Linked DNA regions of Homo sapiens: region 1 is linked to region 2. Evidence: promoter capture Hi-C in human tissues and cell types (Jung and others, 2019). All regions are on one chromosome and are shown on one strand. Each heading gives the region's core, a stretch centred on a gene start or on the middle of the fragment in contact. The rest is flanking DNA. Distances are from core to core; before and after follow the strand shown. Region 1 overlaps FAM76B (family with sequence similarity 76 member B). Region 2 holds the start of MAML2 (mastermind like transcriptional coactivator 2).

What was found. The method cuts DNA at HindIII sites, captures the fragments that hold promoters and counts their contacts. A contact is called where the count stands out against the background at its distance.
Region 1: a contact is called between a fragment that was not itself captured here and the fragment with the promoter of MAML2 in region 2, in 1 of the 25 tissues and cell types used here (lymphoblastoid cells).

What each region holds. Positions count from the first base shown.
Region 1 is chr11:95,767,985-95,773,886 of GRCh38, reverse strand. FAM76B (family with sequence similarity 76 member B) reads left to right here. Exons shown (of 10, transcript NM_144664.5): 10 at 2,237-4,934. The coding sequence ends at 2,326. Among named protein-coding and RNA genes, the nearest start is that of FAM76B, 19 kb to the left of the region's middle. The HindIII fragment of the contact is 4,038 bases long and covers 1-3,605 here.
Region 2 is chr11:96,340,951-96,347,390 of GRCh38, reverse strand. MAML2 (mastermind like transcriptional coactivator 2) reads left to right here and starts at 4,196. Exons shown (of 5, transcript NM_032427.4): 1 at 4,196-6,008. The coding sequence starts at 5,496. MIR1260B (microRNA 1260b) reads right to left here and starts at 5,953; the gene lies at 5,865-5,953. RefSeq lists silencers at 4,013-4,202, 5,320-5,579. The HindIII fragment of the contact is 9,356 bases long and covers 1-6,440 here.

The sequences.
Region 1 (5,902 bases), core at 337-2,836, 570 kb after region 2:
AACCTACGACAAAACACTGAACATCACATGAAAAAATTGTTCAAAATGTCACCCCAAAATACCCCAAATATTGAAAATACTAAGAATATCAAGTTAAAACTCTTATTCACTTAATTAGGTAAGTGGTTAAAAGGAAAAGGGACCTAACATTTGAGTGCCTTCTGTGTACCAGGAACTGTGTTAGGCTAAGTGTTTTATATATTTGATAAGTTCCTTCAACTCATTTTGAGTTCGGATGGTGGAGTTTGTGTTACAAATGAGAAAATATGCTCCAGGTTATGTAGCTGGTAAGTAAGCCAGGATTTAAAGCAGGATCTATGTAATTCTTAATCCTGATATTCTTTCCTTTGCACCAACATGTCTAAACTTTAAAACTTAGCTTTCTTAAGAGTCTGTAAAGAATTTCATTGATTTTTTTTTTTTTTTTTGGCTGGCTGCAAAATGAAGTAATTTTAGGATAAAACAATTTAAATGTACATATATTGAAATATGGCATAAAATTCATTTTTAAAGTATTCAAATTAGAATAATTTGGACTTGTACTTAACAATTGTGTTATTTATTTACCATAAAGACTTTTGTCTTATGTAATTTATTAAGAAATATCTTTATTAGTGATATAAATATATTAAAAGCAAATTGGAAATTAGCTACCAAAGCATTAAATGGAAAAATTGCTTTGAAGACCTAATGTTCAAATTATTGTATTTTGTACTTAAAATATGAAAATTATAAACACTTTATTTCTTGATAATTGAGATAAGAACTTGGAGATTCACATTTTAACTATTTTGTATCAGTATAAACATTTTTAGATAAATATAACTTAACAGATCTAGTGGAGATCTTTTTGAGTCAAATTTGCAGACTCAAAATTTGAAATTGATACTGAATTTGAAATTGAAGTTTTTCGTTACCACCTTAGTTATTAATAACCACTGAATAGGAAAGTTCTATTGATCATGCATCTGAACATAAAAAATTATTTGATTTGCACATATAAGATAGTACTGAGAATATTTGCATTTTAGAGGTCATGGGTGTTAATTAGCAAGAGTGATTGGAGAAGAAGGGTGGGGGAATGGAAGAATAAAGTTTGAAAAAGGTTATTTCATGAAACCACTTTAAGATGGCATACAGAGAAGGCAGAGTGTTATCTGCCCGTAAAAAGCTAAAATTAGAATAAAATATGAAGTACTGAGATTAAAAAAGTCTGTCTATATAATAAAAATTCCTGGAACCTGTGAAGGAAAATGGTGTTGAAACATAAGTCAGAGGATATCTTTTTAAAATGTGTTAATTTTAGGGCAGTGCTCTATTTTCATCACTTTCCCCATTTTGGCTCAAACTACAAAAATGCTTGATCATTAATGTATTTGTATATATAGGGATCCTTACTATCTAAGTTTTCATATTTAAGAGACTGAATAAGGTGACAAAGGCAGTCAAAATGTGAAAATATTCACTGTACTTACACATTCCTCTTCACTAAACTAGTGATGGATGGACATTTAATAATGAAATTCAAGTCAGATGATGAAATGAAATTTTGAATCTTTGTAAAAATTCAAGCTTTCATGAGATAGGAAATGATGATGTGGAACTGCTCAAACCACACTAAAATCAGTGTCAGATGACTGGTAACTAAAGGAACAACAAGATAATGAGTGGTTCTGATGGGTGCTTTAAAAAAAATTGAATATCATTGGGTGCATTTGGCAAAGTAACAAATTCTGAGTTGTTTTTGCAAAAATGACCTCTTATGCTTGTTCTACAAGAGAGTAAACATAGAAAAAAGACCTTATACAGCTTGCCAGGAAATACTCCTCCCAAATCTTGATTCATTCTTTGATTTTATTAATTGTAAATTACAACTTATTTTCATAGTTTTCATGTTTTTAAGATGAAGGGCCAAACACCTTTTCCCTATTAAAATTTGGACCTTCTTTTAAGTGGATTCACTTTGTTTCCTTTTTTGTAACCAATTGTGCATCTTTGGACACAATTATATTAATAATGACATATACAAAGGGGGCTGATGAGCCAATCTAGAATTTTCCTTCTGCATGTTCATCCTTAAAGAGATGAATGTAAAGGTATCAACTCTTTCATTTAATGTTAGTGCTTTAGTGAAACATTTATATAAATGAAAACAGTATTAAATAAGTAGTATTCTTCAGCATGACTTAATAATATTTCAAACATTTTTAATCTTGAATGTTTTTGTCTCCCACAGGCCAAAAACAGAGAACTACTCAAACAGGTCGCAGCATTATCAAAGGGTAAAAAATTTGACAAAAGTGGAAGCATACTAACATCTCCTTGAGAAAGTCATTTGTTTAGCATTTCTTCTTACAATGTAAATTTGGGGAAAAAAAATTCTGTGAAGCCCTTAAATTCTGTGTAGTAGAAAAATATTTTTGCACACCAAATGAATTGGTGTGTTTCCTGTTCACTTTTGTAATTGATATACAGCATTTTTTAAGTTGTAAAACATTCAAATAAAACTTCAACTGGTTTGAAGTAACTTTTTAATTATTTGATATCCAGGAACTTTTTTGCCAGCAATAGTATTAAACAGTTGTAAAGGAGTGCATGAGTAGTGCTCTTTATGAAACGCAACATGCAATAATAGAGTAGGTATGGTTTCAGAAGTCAGAGCAGCAGGGTTTTTTTGTTTTGTTTTTGTTTTACACTATGCTAATTTCAGACAAACAGTTTTCAATTTAGAAATACAAAAACTTTTAAACTCGAAAAATGGCGAACACTGGTTTTTTGGGAATTGTGTTTTTACTTTGCATCAAGATGAATTTAGGAGAAAATCACGGTGCTTTTATTAAATGAACTTCAGATATATGTAAATTTGTTTTTTAAAGTTACATCATTAACATTAGTAACCTAGCATTTTCATTATTGGTATAGGAATTAATGTTTATTGTACAGTATCTAAGGTAAAATGTGTTTCTGTTTTGTAAAAACTACTGTAGATTTTTACTTACAAGTGCCTTTTTGCCACCTAATGTTTTTATTTATAGGAATGCTGATCTTTTGTACATACATTTTGTTTTAAAATCATGTTTAATAAATGTTTGTATATAAATGCATATGTACAGAAGCCTATTTCAAAAGGAAATCAAAGTTGCTAGTAAAATGTTTGAGATTACATTTAGAACTAACTGATAATGCATATAGATTGTAGAAAATTTTGTGATTTGTTTCTGTGTGATAAGGGAAGCTGTTGGTCTTTGAATTCATTTAATTATGTCAAAATAGTTCCCCAAAGATTTAATTTTAAGTTGCTTCTTAAAGAGTAATTTTATTTTTTATGTCATGTGGCTTCATATTAGTATTGTGTGAGTTACATGTTTTGCTTTATATTTTATAAAATTTTTTAAAAATTTTAATGTTTCTGCAATGATCCATGTATCTGCTTTCCCTATGTGTGGTTATCTAAGTTAATATTTATGTACAATGTAATTTGTAAATTTAAAGCAAATCTGAAAAAAATTAAATGATCTTTTTAATCCAATCTGTGATAATCTTTGAATAAATTGGAATCTACTATAAGATTCAGGCATTATAAGTAAATTGTCCTAAAGTCTTTAAAATTGTCTATAAAAGGTTAAGGTAGGGTGGGATAGGTTATATGAAGTTATTGACTATATTCTGATCCAGCGGTTTTCAGCCTGAAATAGAATTTATCTCCTAGTTATTATCAGTTCAGAGTTTTAGTTTGATTTTAAAGTATTGCTAGATACACTGTATAGAGTGAGTTGCTTCTCTTAATAATTTATGGGCAAAGATAAATTTGCTTCATGTAAAACTGTTACTAAATTTATAAGTTTTAAAGGTTTTGTTTTATACAAGCATTGATTGTGAATGTCATATCAAAGATTGGCTTTCTTAAGAACACATGATTGAAACAATTTTTTTTTAACATGACGTGTTTCAATAGACTGTTCTCATAGTTCATTATAAAGTGAATACCAAATAATTCTTTGTCCATTTTGAAAGCATAATATAGGGTAATTTTCAAGTGATACAAAAAGATTCAGTTAGAATCTTGTAAACTAAACCAGTTTATTTTTATGGGATCTTCATGTAATAATTTTCTTAAATTTAGTACTCTCAACCATGATAGATAATGCCTTAACATGGATTTTAACGTTTGCAGGATTTGCTAAATTCATAAGATAGTTATTACCTTTCTTTGAAATTTGTAATGTTTTATATTCTTGTTTCATAGCCATTTGTCAGTCCACAGTGGTCATTATGGTTTTACTTTTTGATAGTTCTTACACCTTGTTGGAGAAACTACAAAAGAAAGTTGTCCTCGTCCTTCCCCTTAGCTAACATCAAAATTAAAAAGTTGAATATTAATATTAGCTAACATTAAAATGGAAGGTAATTCAGTTTTAGTGTTAGCTAACATTAACAGTCTAATAATTTAGCTTTGTAAATTCCAAGGCTAAAACCCTTTCATGGGCTTCACAGTATTTAGTCCTAATTAAATACCCTTCTTTATTCCATGACCTTATTTTATAACTTAAATTTTTTTGCAATTGTATAAATTAGTAATTCAGTCCCAGTCCTGGATCTCTGTAGTGTTTTGACATAATAAACTGATATTCTTTAAATGTGGACCTGTAAGGAGATACTATGGTGTGGTGTATTGTGCTTTTAGCCTGTTTTCCACTATTAATTAGCATTTACCAGTAAGGGTCATTTTGACTCAAGTTATTTATGTATTAATAGCCTGTGAATATTGCAGTCCTTTTTAGATTATATTGGTCTAAATATGCATTCTGCAGTGAACCTGTTAAGCTGTTCACATGTATAGACTATTGAAATACTGTACTTGTACACATCTGACTGTTGACATTTTGTACTTTTTTCTAGATCCAATATTTCACAATAAAAAACTTGTCAAAGGCTTTGTATTAGTTTTCAATGGCTGCTGTAACAAACTCCCACACACTTAGTGTCTTAATACAACAAAAATTAATTCTTTTATGGTTCTGGAGGCCAGAAGTCCAAAATCAGGTTTACTGGTCTAAAGTCAAGGTATTGGCAGGATTGCTTCTTTCTGGAGGCTGTAGGGGAAAATCTGTTTTCTTGCCTTTTCCAGCTTCTAGAGCTGCATTCCTTGCATGCTATGAGCTCATTGACCTTTATCTTCAAAGCCCAAATTGTAGCATCTCAAATCTCTCTCTGCTGCTGTCATCATACCTTCTCAGAGTGTCTCCCTCTGTTCCCTCTCATAAGGACCTTATGAGAACATTATTGGCTCCACCTGCACAAACAACGTAGTTTTTCCATCTCGAGTTCTTAACCTAGTCACATCTGCAAAGTCCCTATTGTCATATAAGGTAATGTATTCACTGGTTCCAAGGGTTCGGGCATGGACATATTGGGGGACCATTATTGAGCCTACATAGCTTCATCTACATTTTACCCCCTTTTTCCAGTATGAAACCCTGAAACAACAGATACATGAGAGAAGTTTAGGCCAAACATTAGAAACTATTTTCCTGTCTGTCCATTCAGACCACTTTAGTGCAATAGTTATTTTTCCTGGAAGAAATAAATTTGCATCTAATTGAGCAAGTATTTCAAGCTATAGTTAAGTTTTTGAAAGCTTTGGAACATGACTAGTACCATGCTAGATTGTTTGATAAGTTAAAAGTTGAAGGTGTGATTCTTTCATTTGTAGACTAGGTGGGCAGATACTGTGCTTGGGAAAAAATCTGGAACCTAACTTTGGTATTATAAAGTGTAGTAAAAGCTAACAGCTTTTAGCAAGGGCATTTCAAGACTTCAGGTGTAGTCCCTTGTTTCTCAAACGTTAGTATACATCAGAGTTACCTGGAGGGCATGATAAACACATGTTGCTGGACCTTAT
Region 2 (6,440 bases), core at 2,947-5,446:
ACAAAAAAAGAGAATTTTAGACCAATATCCTTGATGAACATTGATGCAAAAATCCTCAATAAAATACTGGCAAACCGAATCCAGCAGCACATCAAAAAGCTTATCTACCATGATCAAGTAGGCTTCATCCCTGGGATGCAAGGCTGGTTCAACATATGAAAATCAATAAACACAATCCAGCACATCAACAGAACCAAAGTCAAAAACCACATGATTATCTCAATAGATGCAGAAAAGGCCTTTGACAAAATTCAACAACCCTTCATGCTAAAAACTCTCAATAAATTAGGTATTGATTGGACGTATCTCAAAATAATAAGAGCTATCTATGACAAACCCACAGCCAATATCATACTGAATGGACAAAAACTGGAAGCATTCCCTTTGAAAACTGGCACAAGACAGGGATGCCCTCTCTCACCACTCCTATTCAACATGGTGTTGGAAGTTCTGACCAGGGCAATCAGGCAGGAGAAGGAAATAAAGGGTATTCAATTAGGAAAAGAGGAAGTCAAATTGTCCCTGTTTGCAGATGACATGATTGTATGTCTAGAAAACCCCATCATCTCAGCCCAAAATCTCCTTAAGCTGATAAGCAACTTCAGCAAAGTCTCAGGATACAAAATCAATGTGCAAAAATCACAAGCATTCTTATACACCAATAACAGACAAACAGAGAGCCAAATCATGAGTGAACTCCCATTCACAATTGCTTCAAAGAGAATAAAATACCTAGGAATCCAACTTACAAGGGACCTGAAGGACCTCTTCAAGGAGAACTACAAACCACTGCTCAATGAAATAAAAGAGGATACAAAGAAATGGAAGAACATTCCATGCTCATGGGTAGGAAGAATCAATATCGTGAAAATGGCCATATTGCCCAACGTAATTTATAGATTCAATGCCATCCCCATCAAGCTACCAACGACTTTCTTCACAGAATTGGAAAAAACTACTTTAAAGTTCATGTGGAACCAAAAAAGAGCCCGCATTGCCAAGTCAATCCTAAGCCAAAAGAACAAAGCTGGAGGCATCATGCTACCTGACTTCAAACTATACTACAAGGCTACAGTAACCAAAACAGCATGGTACTGGTACCAAAGCAGAGATATAGACCAATGGAACTGAACAGAGCCCTCAGAAATAATGCCGCATATCTACAACTATCTGATCTTTGACAAACCTGAGAAAAACAAGCAATGGGGAAAGGATTCCCTATTTAATAAATGGTGCCAGGAAAACTGGCTAGCCATATGTAGAAAGCTGAAACTGGATCCCTTCCTTACACCTTATACAAAAATTAATTCAAGATGGATTAAAGACTTATGTGTTAGACCTAAAACCATAAAAACCCTAGAAGAAAACCTAGGCAATAACATTCAAGACATAGGTGTGGGCAAGGACTTCATGTCTAAAACACCAAAAGCAATGGCAACAAAAGCCAAAATTGACAAATGGGATCTAATTAAACTAAAGAGCTTCTGCACAGCAAAAGAAACTACCATCACAGTGAACAGGCAACCTACAGAATGGGAGAAAATTTTTGCAACCTACCCATCTGACAAAGGGCTAATATCCAGAATCTAAATGAACTCAAACAAATTTACAAGAAAAAAACAAATAACCCCATAAAAAGTGGGCAAAGGATATGAACAGACACTTCTCGAAAGAAGACATTTATGCAGCCAAAAAGCACATGAAAAAATGCTCATCGTCATTGGCCATCAGAGAAACGCAAATCAAAACCACTATGAGATACCATCTCACACCAGTTAGAATGGCAATCATTAAAAAGTCAGGAAACAACAGGTGCTGGAGAGGATGTGGAGAAATAGGAACACTTTTACACTGTTGGTGGGACTGTAAACTAGTTTAACCATTGTGGAAGTCAGTGTGGCGATTCCTCAGGGATCTAGAACTAGAAATACCATTTGACCCAGCCATCCCATTACTGGGTATATACCCAAAGGACTATAAATTATGCTGCTATAGAGACACATGCACTGGTACGTTTATTGCGGCACTATTCACAATAGTAAAGACTTGGAACCAACCCAAATGTCCAACAATGATAGACTGGATTAAGAAAATGTGGCACATATACACCATGGAATACTATGCAGCCATAAAAATTGATGAGTTCATGTCCTTTGTAGGGACATGGATGAAGCTGGAAACCATCATTCTCAGCAAACTATCACAAGGACGAAGAAACAAACACCGCATGTTCTCACTCATAGGTGGGAATTGAACAATGAGATCACATGGACACAGGAAGGGGAACATCACACTCTGGGGACTGTTGTGGGGTGGGGTGAGGGGGGAGAGATAGCATTAGGAGATATGCCTAATGCTAAATAACGAGTTCATGGGTGCAGCACACCAGCATGGCACATGTATACATATGTAACAAACCTGCACGTTGTGAACATGTACCCTAAAACTTAAAGTATAATAATAATAAAATTTAAAAAAAGAAATAAAAGAAATTATAAAACAAACAAAAAATCTGAGTGTATTTGTCCCCATTTCCAAGCTAACAGGATTGGTGAAAATAAAATGGACTAAAGTAGGCTATCCTATAGGGAACTAAATTGCAAATAAATCCAGTATTGAGATGTTTGCCTTGATTTTGCCTATTTCTATCCATAGCTCAGTTTGAAACGACCATATTCGTGAAATGCCAGAGTTTGTTTAGATTACTGAAGGTATATTATTTGAGACCTCAAATCCAAATGACTTCCAAATTAGGATACCCAGAATATTTTTGGTCCTGACTGTTGCAGTATTATGCTCACCTTAATTTAATCTTCATAATTGAAAATAAGCAGAATCCACAATAAGTTTTTTTTTTTTTTTTGGAGACAGAGACTCACCCTGTTGCCCAGGTTGGAGCGCAGTGGCGTGATCTTAGCTCACTGCGACCTCCGCCTCCTGGGTTCCAGCAATTATCCTGTCTCAGCCTCCCGAGTAGCTGGGATTACAGGCGTATGACACCATGCTCAGCTAATTTTTGTAGTTTTAGCAGAGACGGGGTTTCACCATATTGGCCAGGCTGGTCTTGAACTCTTGAACTCAGGTAATACACCTGCCTTGGCCTCCCAAAGTGCTGGGATTACAGGCGTGAGCCACTGTGCCTGGCCAGGATTGGATATTTTAAAGGTTGGATCACTTGAAAATGGGGGAACAATGATCTGTGTGAGATCTATTTGGTTTCTATTATTAAACTTCTTGAAACTCAGAGCCAGGTGCAGTAGTGGTGAGTACCTGTAGTTCCAGCTACTCAGGAGGCTCAAGTGGGAGGATCACTTGAGCCCAGGAGTTCAACTCCAGCCTGGGCAACATAACAAGACTCCATTAAAAGAAAAAAAAAAAAAAAACTTTTTGAAACTCAGCTGCTACACATTGACTTTCCTCATTGTATATGTGCACCAGGTAGCTAAGGATACTTCAGGTCTTATATTTGGTTTTTCATAGGCAATCATGCATTCCCAAAAAAAAAGCGTTTTTTTCTAGAACTGGTATCGATAATTGTATCATTCTCATAAAATATTTTATTTATCCCAACTGATTTGCCTGTGATCACCCAGACTCACTTATCCAGAGACACACAAATGGGCAGGCAGGTAGACAAACGCTACACCTGCCTGCCCTTTAGGAGCTAACAATGTGATTACCTCTCCTCTCCACGCGCAACCCCTTCCGCCCTCAACACACACATTCATATCTTCCTTATTCTATTAATGAACATTTCCTCGGTGCTCACACAGCTCGTGCTAGGTTGCTCAGTGGTGTCATTTACAATATACTGAAAAATGAAAATGATATCCTCAGCGGGGCGTAATGTAGGGCTGAAAGGGAAAACACATTCCTGGCCCGGAATTTCTTAAACATTTAGAGCTGGTGAAATGGTTGTGTAGAGGTTGGGGAATTTCCCCAGCCTTCCCCGCTTAACCGAGTCTGATGCTGAGCTGAGCCAGGGCAGCTGAGATGCGCAGGGCTTGGGATTTACCTCTTCAGCCACTGGGAGGCCCTCTGCGTTCCCCTTTCCCCGGTGCCTGGCTGCGATTACTCACTCGCGCAGTGGCACCAGCCTTCCACCAGGGAGCCTCGAACGAGCTCTCCCGCCCTCTCCCCGCCCCCCCACCCCCATCTGCAGCTTGCTGGCTCTCTCTTTCTCCTTCTCTGTCTCACTCTCTCTCTTTCTCTCCCTCTCCTATCGGAGCACAATGAAAGCCTGTGTATCGCCGTGACTCCGGGCGCGAGCCAGTGTCAGCAAAGCGGCTAACAACAGACGAGAAAGAGAAAGGAAAATACAAGCTACTTTTTTTTTCCATCTATAAAGCGGAGCAAATACAGGAGATAGAACCAGATTGCTTATTGCGAGTCCAGACCCTCAGATCCACTGGCCGGGGATGGAATGTACAAAAGTGGACAGAAAAGTGGCTGGACATGACTCGGTGCAATTTGCTGGAAGTTTGTAAGTTTGACCATCGTTTGTAAATTACTCTCGGAAGAGTTTGTCTCTCTTGATACTGTATTAGAATAGAGCCGGGGGTGAGGAATAGAAACGTAAGCGGGAAAGAAAAAAATGTGTTGAAGGATCTCTCTCAGTGGCTAGCGACTTAAGATTGCTTTTCATTTAAGGCTAGGAAACCTTAGAGGGAGTGAGGATTTTACCGGTGATTGGATTAGCTGAAGAAAAAAGCATGGTCCAAAAGTCCAATTACTGACATTGTTAACAGTTGAAAAGCTGTCTCCCTCTTTTGGGAGAAGACAACATCCTACAGTACCCCAAAGAGGAGAAAACACCGGAGCGAAAGGAAAGGGAGGAAAAATTAAAAGCCAAAAGACAGTCTCCCTTGATTTTTGCACATTTTGAACAGTGACTTAAACATCTTCTGAAACAGCACTGTTTTGTTTTGTTTTGGTTTTTTATTTAACCTGAGGAAAAGTCAAGGCTGCTGGTTACATAGACATGGTAGAAATGTGTTTCTCTGCAGAAACATCCCCATAAAGAATTGTCGGAAACAACTAGGTGAGGGGGAGTCCTCTCTATTAATACCTCTCTCAATACCTTTTGCTGTGTGTTTCTGTCTCTTGCTGGACAATCCCTGAATTCTTGATCTAACCCCCAGATCGTGTGTTTACAAAGTACCTAGTGGCTCTTGTCAGCTTGGTGGAGGAAAAAAAATCCACCAACTCTGTCCAACTTCTCCAGAGCTGTCAAATGCAATTAGAGTAAGTTAATCAGGGTTTGTTTCCAACTTATCCTCCCCCCAGTTGGTTTCTATTCTTTCTCCCCACCCTCTTTTTACTAACTCCCCTCCCCCACAACTTCTCCACGGCTCCCCCACAACCTCTGAAGACCTCTATTCATGTGGCCCTGAACACTGAGCTCACATTGTCAAAAACAGACTTGCCTGCAATAGCCAGCAGTAGCCTCTTTCCACCTCACCATCCCAGAGGCAGCAATCATTGTGTCCGGTAAGATGGGGGACACAGCGCCCCCGCAGGCCCCCGCAGGAGGGCTAGGGGGGGCCTCTGGGGCGGGGCTCCTTGGAGGGGGCTCAGTCACCCCGAGAGTGCACAGTGCTATCGTGGAGCGCCTCCGGGCTCGGATCGCTGTCTGCCGCCAACACCACCTGAGCTGTGAAGGACGATATGAACGAGGTAGGGCCGAGAGCTCAGACCGGGAAAGAGAAAGCACCTTGCAGCTCCTGAGCCTTGTACAGCATGGCCAGGGGGCAAGGAAAGCTGGCAAACACACCAAGGCCACCGCCACTGCTGCCACCACTACAGCCCCTCCACCGCCCCCTGCTGCCCCTCCTGCGGCCTCCCAAGCAGCAGCAACAGCAGCCCCACCGCCCCCACCAGACTATCACCATCACCACCAGCAGCACCTGCTGAACAGTAGCAATAATGGTGGCAGTGGTGGGATAAACGGAGAGCAGCAGCCGCCCGCTTCAACCCCAGGGGACCAGAGGAACTCAGCCCTGATTGCGGTAAGCACCTGGCTTTCTCATGGTTCTGGCTGTGGTCCTGTGACCTTTTGTGAGGGTAGAGTTTGCTTTGGCCTAAGGTAGAGTGGATGGCAATGAAAAAGGCCAAGATGTCACCTGACTACCTTAAAGGCCATTGGGTGTGTTCGGGTGGTTTCATGCGCCTACTCATCATGTTCTGTTGGTGCTCACTCCTGGGTTTTCCTTCGCTTATAGGATATTCCTTAACTGATAAGAAGCCTGAGTTTTCCAGAGGCTCTCTGGGGTCCACATCTTATAAAAGAAGAGGCTACCAGCTGGCAAGATCTGAGCCACTGAGGAAGGTTCTATCTCATGGATCCTCCAGCTTTGGCCAGCCAGCTCTGATTAGGCCCCCAAGCCATTTTTCAGCCCCAAAGCATTTATCAGCCCAGCTGGCCTTTATTAAAGCCTTTT